2 separate regions of the Homo sapiens genome follow, and region 2 is linked to region 1. The links are contacts of gene promoters, found by promoter capture Hi-C in blood cells and fetal thymus (Javierre and others, 2016). All regions are on one chromosome and are shown on one strand. Each heading gives the region's core, a stretch centred on a gene start or on the middle of the fragment in contact. The rest is flanking DNA. Distances are from core to core; before and after follow the strand shown. Region 1 holds the start of ANKS6 (ankyrin repeat and sterile alpha motif domain containing 6). Region 2 overlaps GABBR2 (gamma-aminobutyric acid type B receptor subunit 2).

Region 1 (4,238 bases), core at 242-2,741:
ACTACCAGGTATATACCCAAAGGAAAATAATTCATTCTATCAAAAAGACACCTGTATATTCATTGCAGTGCCATTTACAATAGCAAGGGTATGGAATCAACCTAAGTGCCCATCAACAGTAGATTGGATAAAGAACATGTGGTACAGAGCCAGATGTGATGGCTCACACCTGTAATCCTGGCACTTTGGGAGGCCACAGCAGGTGAATCACTTGAGCTCAGGACTTTGAGACCAGCCGGACAACATGGTAAAACCCTTTCTCAACCAAAAATACAAAAAATTAGCCGGGTGTGGTGGCACTTGCCTGCAGTCCTAGCTACTCGGTAGGCTGAGGTGGGAGGATTGCTTGAGCCTGGGAGGCAGAGGTTGTGGTGAGTAGAGATTGCACCATTGCACTCCAGCCTGGATGACAGAGCAAGACCCTGTCAAAAGAGAGAGAGAGAGAGAGAGAGAGAGGGAGAAAGGGAGGGAGGGAGGGAGGAAGGAAGGGGGATAGGGAGGGAGGGAGGGAAGAGAGGGAAGGAATGAAAGAAATGTGGTGCATATACACGATAGAATATGATGGAATACTACGGAATACTATGCAGCCATAAGAATGAACGAAATCATGCCCTTTGCAGCAACATGGATAAAGCTGGAGGCCATTATCCTAAGCGACCTAAAAAGAACAGAAAACCAAATACTGCATGTTCTCACTTATAAGTGGGAGCTAAACATTGAGTACACATGGACACAAAGATGGGAACAACAAACGCTGGGGATCGCTAGGCCAGGGAGGGATGGAGGGGACTCTGGGCTGAAGAACCTCTTGGTGGGTATTATGCTTACTGCCTGGGTGACGGGATCGTTGGGACCACAAGCTTCAGCGTCGCGCAATTTACCCATGTAACAATTTACCCATGTAACAAACCTGTACCCTTTAATCTATAATAATAGTTGAAATAAAAGGTGGGGGAGAGAGAGAGAACAGGAGGCGCTTTTAGCCCCAGCAGCCTGGCCCAGATGAAGGAGCGACATTAAGGGCACCGCAGGACACTGTGAGGAAACAATCCGTTCGTTCCTTAATTCAGCCGCTTCCTTATTCTAGAAGGGCAGGTTCAGTGCCAGGGGCTGCGGTGGGGTCAGCGGAGCCCGCTAGTAAAGTCAAGGCCCACGCAGCTGCGGACTCAGACCCGGGCCCAGGGCCCTGACCACAGCGTGAAGAGGGGATGGCGTGGCCGCTCCCACCTCTGCCCTGACAGGAAGTTTCTGGAGCCCCGGGACAGGGCGGCGAGAGGGCGCCGAAGAGGCAAAAGGGAACACGCGGGTCTGCGGCGGGCGCTCCTCTGAGCGTCCCTGGACTCCCGAATACGGGCACTGGAGGTGCGCAGCCCCGGCCCTAGCGCGCTCCCGGCACACAGCAGGCGCGCGGCCCTAGCCCCGGCGCGCTCCCGGCACACAGTAGGCGCGCGGCGCGGGCGGGTGGCCGGAAGGGGGCGCCTGCGGGCGGTATCCGGGGGCGGAGCCGACGCGGCCGGCGGGGCGGACGGGAGCGGGCCGCGCGTGGCGGCGGCGATGGGCGAGGGCGGGCTGCCCCCGGCCTTCCAGCTGCTGCTGCGCGCGTGTGACCAGGGCGACACGGAGACGGCGCGGCGGCTGCTGGAGCCGGGGGCGGCGGAGCCAGCCGAGCGCGGCGCGGAGCCGGAGGCGGGCGCGGAGCCGGCGGGGGCCGAGGTGGCCGGGCCCGGGGCCGCAGCGGCGGGGGCAGTCGGGGCTCCGGTGCCCGTGGATTGCTCGGACGAGGCGGGCAACACCGCACTGCAGTTCGCCGCGGCCGGGGGCCACGAACCGCTGGTGCGCTTCCTGCTGCGCCGCGGTGCCTCGGTCAACAGCCGCAACCACTACGGCTGGAGCGCGCTCATGCAGGCGGCCAGGTGAGGCGGCGGGGCCCGGGGGCCCGGGACCAGAGTGGTGCCCGGCGCTGGCCCGAGACGCGGTCCCCGGCGGCCGGATGCCCCGGGAGGTGAAGAGTTAAGGACTCCTTAGAGTTGGAATGGTAAACTTTGAGTAGTCTTTTGTAAACTTTGAGCATAGACGTGGAAACACTTTTGAATTAACATAAAATCAGATTCTTAGAAATTTTGGCCTTTCAGAATAGAATCTGGAGACAGCGAATAGAATTGTAGAGACTTAGAACCTTAGAGATTTAATTCATTTCTTATTGCAGTAAGAGTTTCCTCAGAACCTGCCTTCCCTTCCTGGCTTGGCGTTGAGGGTGCTGCGAGACCCAGGCAGAGTCCCCACCCAGGGCATTGGTGGGCAGGCCAGGCAAAGGAACGAGCTTGACCGGAAAGGTTTGAGTAGCTGTGGGGCAGGTGACCCATTTTGGAGACGTGGGGGAAGGTTTCTGGTAGAAAAGATGTTTATATCCACGTGGAGACCTGCGGATACCTGAGAATTAGCCAGGACATTACAAGTGGGCTGTGGGAAGGCATGATGGGAGGCCCATGCAAAGGCTTGGGTGCACGAGCTGGTAGGACTGGTAGAATGAGGTATGCGTAGAATGTATGAGTAGAATGATGTACTAGTCCTCCCTGGAGAGAAGGCAGATGCCAGGGAGTTGGGGGAGTGTGGGAGCTGAGAAACGCTAGCTATCCTAGGGTGCTAGGGAGTCATGGAAGGTGCTAGGGAGTCATGGAAGGTTCTAGGCAGAATGAGTGACAGGATGAGAGTTACGTTTTGGAAAAATTACTTTCCTTGAAGTGTGAGAATAGATTAGATACTCTAGGGTAAGCTAGAGTCAAAAAGGCTGGTTAGGTAGAGTTTGCTGCAGTCTGAGTGAGAGGTGATGGTGGCCTAGACCAGAATGGAGACAGCGGAGGGAGGGCACCCAGATGAATTTGTGATATATTCAGGGAGTAGATCAGCAGGAGTTGACGACTGGCCCTTGGGGAGGGGTTAAGAGAGACAGCAAGGATGGCATCTAGAGATCTGGCTTCTGTGAAGCCTGCCATGATATCTCCCTGTTCTCTGGTCCCTCCGCAGCAGAAAGGCCTCTGTGGTAGCATCCATCACACCATGTTAATGCTGACTGGCTTCCTCAGTACCCAAACCTGGCCACACATCAGAATCACCAGGATGCTTGTCTAAGTGCAGATTCCTGAGTTCCTTTTCTGGAGATTGTGATTTAGAAGGCCCAGGGCAGTGAGGGGAGTAAGAGACAGGGACTCTGTGTGAGAAGAGGCTCCCCAGTGATTCTCTTGTATGGTAGGTTTGGGAGCCACTGATGTGTTATGTGTGTCTCATCTCTGCAATCCACCAAGTGCGTGCACAGGGGCCCTGGTGAGCCCCCTGAGGAATTTACTGAGTGAGGTTTGTGACTACAGCACTGACATGCCTCAGAGTGTCTCAGAGACCCCAGATCATCAGTTTTAACCAAGTTCTGCAGGATAGTCTTGAGCCTGGGTATTTTAAAATGTGCTGTTCCTCAGTTGGTGTGACACCGACTCTATATTCAGGTAGCATCTCTGCCTGTGTTGAGTTGTGCTCCAGCTTTCTGCTGCGTAATTCATAAGAAAAGGTCAAGTTGAGGAGTAGTATATATGGAAGACTTCCAGAAGGATGTACAGTGTGTCTGTCCCTCACATCGGGGTAGGCAAATGAATGGCCTGTGTGCTGACACCTTCCAGCCTTGTGCTCTTCTTCCTTGGATCTGGATACGCCCCCAGAATCCTGCTCAAAACCACACCCCTGGCAGCCACCACGCTGGGTCTGAGCAAGCATCTATTTATCGTCCCAGCTCTCTGTGTGGATCAGGCCAGACTATTAGACACCCTGTGCCTTTGGTCTTTTGTGGGTGTTTTAGTATTAGAAATGGTGACCTTAGTGTTTTTTCCTGTTCTTTTTTTTTTTTTTTTTGAGACGGAGTCTCGCTCTGTCACCAGGCTGGAGTGCAGTGGCGTGATCTCGACTCACTGCAACCTCCGCCTCCTGGGTTCAAGCGATTCTCCTGTCTCAGCCTCCGGAGTAGCTGGGATTACAGTCACGTGCCACCACGCCCAGCTACTTTTTGTATTTTTAGTAGAGACCGGGTTTCACTGTGTTGGCCAGGCTGGTCTCAATCTCCTGATTTCGTGAAACGCCCACCTCGGCCTCCCAAAGTGCTGCGATTACAGGCGTGAGCCACCGCGCTGGGGCATGTTTTTTCATGTTCTTAAAATAATAGGTAACCTTTGGCCAGGTGCGGTGGCTCACGCCTG
Region 2 (3,856 bases), core at 450-2,949, 460 kb after region 1:
CAGCCTTCTTGGTGGATTCTTTAGAATTTTCTACCCATAAGATTATATAATTTGCAAATAGAGAGTTTTGCTCCTTTCATTCCAATTTGTATGCTTCATATTCCATTTTCCTGAATAGCCAAAAAATTCTCGGATAGACTTTCAACCTACTTATATCTTTGAATCAAAAGTGAGTCACATATACAGCAAATATAGTCAGATCATGTTTTTTTTAATTCATTCTGCCAATCTCTGCATTTCAATTGGAGTGTTTAATCCATTTTATGTAATTACTGGAAAGGCAGGATTTACATCTGCCATTCTGGAAGATACTTTTTTGTTTTTGAGACAGAGTCTCCCTCTGTCGCTCAGGCTGGAGTCAGTGGCGTGATCTTGGCTCACTGCAACCTCTGCCTCCTGGGTTCAAGCGATTCTCCTGCCTCAGCCTCCCGAGTAGCTGGGACTACAGGCACATGCCACCATGCCTGGCTAATTTTTGTATTTTTTAGTAGAGACGGGGTTTCACCATATTGGCCAGGCTGGTCTCAAACTCCTGACTTTGTGATCCACCCGCCTTGGCCTCCCAAAGTGCTGGGATTATAGGCATGAGCCACTGCGCCCAGCCAGATATCTTTTTTAAACGCACGACGTATCTTACTATTTTGCACTTAAAATTCTCCAATTTAAAATAAAACCCACACTTCTTACCTTGCTACAGGTCCTACACAATCCAGTCCCACTCCATATCTGACTTCATCTAGTTCCTCTCCCTGTGCTCACCCCAGTCTTTAGCCATGTGGGCCTTCTGTCTGGAGCTCTAACACTCCAACTTTATTCCCAACTTTGTGCCTTTGCATTCATGATTCTTCTGCCTGGAACGCTCTTCCTCCAAACCTTTTCAGACTCTTTCCTGTCATTCAGATCTAGCTTAAATGCCACCTCCCTGATCACCAGATCCTTAAATGTCCCCCAACATTCTTTCTCACCTCCCCTGTTTCTCCATCACATTGCTTATTCCTCGTTCTCTCATCTATATTCTATCATCCACTAGAATGTGAGCCCCATGAAACAGGGCCCTTAACTATCTTACTCAGAGCTCTTTCTCCATGGCCTTGCACAGGGCCAGACAGACACACAGCTCAATATATGTTGGTTGAATGGATGAGTGAATGAATGAACAAAGGAATGCGTGCATGAATGAATGGATGATGGACAAGCTTCCCTGGCATGATTCTTGTCAGCACTGACAACAGCTGAGTAGGTAATGTGGTTGCTCAGTAGCTGGATTGAACTATTGGATGAATATGTTGATACTAAAAAGAAAAATAAGTAATGTTTTAAAGGTGAAGAGGAAGTTTGGTTGTTGTTGTTGTTGTTGTTGTTGAATGATTTCAAAGAGAAACTTGACTCGTGGTTCTCAATCCTGCTACATCACCCAGAAAAGATCTTTTTGAAAATACCGGCCCGGGTCACACCCCCCAAAATATCTGATTTAACTGGCTTAGAAAGGGCCCTGTGCATCAGGAATTTTTTAAAGTTGCCATGGGTTCTGGTGTGCAGCCGGAGTTGAGATTCTCTGGTCCAGACTCTCACGAATCTCTAGGAAGGGCCCAAGACTGTACCTTGGATACCAGGGTGATAAATAGACTCAGGACAATAAATTTTTACGACTAGAAAGTAAAAGAAGAAAAGGCTGAATCCAGAAAATCTGAAGTCCAGTTGGTCCCTGCCAGCCAGAGATGATGATGATGACAAAAGAATTACAGACTCAGAGAGAGGCCCACCTGGGGAGTTCATGTGTGCAGACCCCAAAGAGCTACGCAGGCCCTCTGGTCTCATATTTTTCTGAAAATCTTTGTGTTAGCATTTGAACAATTGTTTCTCCAGTGGAAGAGAGAGAGCAAGGAAGAGGAAAAAAGGGAGGTTTCTATGAGGTTTCTATTTCTGCAGCATTGTTCATTGCAATGGGAAGACAGAGGGTGAGCAAGTTCCACACCAGAACTTTAGGCAGGTTTGTTTCTAAGTGCTCTACAATCACAAGGAAACCACTGACCACAGAAACCAACAGGGAAGAAAAAAGGACAAGGGAACCACAGTGTCCAGGCACCTCAGCACTCATGGTGGCTCGGAAAGGAACCGCCAGCCCTGTGGTGGGATGTTCATTCTTTTCTGCCCTTGTTTAGCTTGAAGTTTCTCCCTAAAGCGATAGTGGATTAAGCTTCAAATACTGAGTTGTTTTGTCCTTGACAAAGGATGAAACATTTAACATGCCCCAAAGATGCTCTGTTCATGTCAGAGGAGGCTGAGACAACCTGTGAACCACCCCTTAGGGGACAGCAGCCAGAAGAAACACGATCATTGCTGGTCCTGCCCAAATCTCACTTCCCAGCCCACCCACCCATACTCTTGCCCTTCTCTGGACTGGTACCCCAACTCCAGGCTTACCCTACTCACATGCAAGCACCCAATAGTAAGCAAACACGTACTATAATAATGACAACAGTGTCTCACATTTCAACAGCATGGCAAAGTTCACAAAGCACCTTGACATCCCCATTTTAGAGATTCATCAGAGGAAACTAAAGCTGAGTAGGTGACCTGACTGGCCTGAGATAACCTTGCTTGCTACGCATGAGAACTGGAACCCAGCCCAAGCCTTGTGGTATTGGATGAGTCAGTATCCCTTCCACTGGGATTGATCCATTCACACTTCCTGCTTCTTTTTGCATCCGTCCCTTTGTTTTCTTTTTCTTCATTGATGCTTTCAAAATTATTAGCTTCCAATTGTGCATAATGTTCTCTTACAAATGCTTAAATCTCTTTCACATCTGTGATTATCTGGTTGATGGTTCATGAGAGTGAACAGATATTCAAATCCAGCAAGTTTAGATCTGAGAGCTTCACCTTCCAGTCCCGCTTCATCCTTAGTACTAGATCTACTCAGCCTTCTTCTAGGATTTCAACAAAGCTGCATTGTCTTAGGAGTAACAATAGCAAAAATAATCATAGCAACAGCTTTTCTTGAGTGCATGCTATGTGGTAAGCACTGTTCCAAGTTCTTTGCTTTATCAACTCATTCAGTCTTCACAACAACCCCATGTGGGAATTACCATTATTATCCCCAGTCTACAGATGAGGAAACTGAGGCACAGAGGGGTTAAATAACATGCCCATGGTCACACAGCTGGTAAATATACAACATGTAGCCCTTAGTGGTTAAGCAAGTAGACTCTGGAGCTAGGCTTAACTCCAAATCCCAGTTCAGCCACTTACTGTGTGAAGTTAGGTTAGTGTACTGGGCTGAATTGTCATTCCCCCTAAACGATATATGCATCCTTACCCCTGGACCTGTGAAATGTGGCCTTATTTGCTAAAGGGGTCTTTGCAGATGTCATTATGTTAAGGGTCTTCAGAAGAAATCATTTTGGATTACCCGGATGGGCCCTAAACTCGATGACAGGTGTCCTTATAAAAAATACACATAGAGGGACACAGACACAGGGGAGAAGGCCATGCGGAGATGGAGGCAGAATGATGCAGCCACAGCATGGAATGCCTGGGGCCACCGGGAGCTGGAGAAGACATGGCAGGATTCTTCTCTTGAGCCTTCAGAAGGAGCACAGCCCAACGGACATCTTGACTTTGGACTTCTGGCCTCCAGAACTGTGCAAGGATTAATTGTCTATTGTTTTAAGCCGCCCAATTTATGGTAGTTTGTTACAACAGCTCTAGAAAATGAGTATCATTTCTGAGGGCTTCAGCCTTAAAATGGGCCTAGATAGGAGAAGTGCCCACTTTACTGAGCTTTGGGGAGGACTAGAAGGGATGCCTGTAAGATTTGCCCACACCCAGCACCTGGAGAGCACTTGATGAAGGT

Evidence for each region. The method cuts DNA at HindIII sites, captures the fragments that hold promoters and counts their contacts. A CHiCAGO score of 5 or more calls a contact.
Region 2: a contact is called between a fragment that was not itself captured here and the fragment with the promoter of ANKS6 in region 1, in 2 of 17 cell types (M1 macrophages and M0 macrophages). The highest score is 5.3, in M1 macrophages.

What each region holds. Positions count from the first base shown.
Region 1 is chr9:98,793,808-98,798,045 of GRCh38, reverse strand. It overlaps ANKS6 (ankyrin repeat and sterile alpha motif domain containing 6), which reads left to right and starts at 1,491. Exons shown (of 15, transcript NM_173551.5): 1 at 1,491-1,913. The coding sequence starts at 1,555. RefSeq lists enhancers at 1,227-1,727, 1,728-2,228 and a silencer at 1,349-1,968. The HindIII fragment of the contact is 11,591 bases long and covers 863-4,238 here.
Region 2 is chr9:98,333,172-98,337,027 of GRCh38, reverse strand. The region is part of intron 13 of GABBR2 (gamma-aminobutyric acid type B receptor subunit 2); the gene reads left to right. Among named protein-coding and RNA genes, the nearest start is that of TBC1D2, 79 kb to the right of the region's middle. The HindIII fragment of the contact is 1,001 bases long and covers 1,199-2,199 here.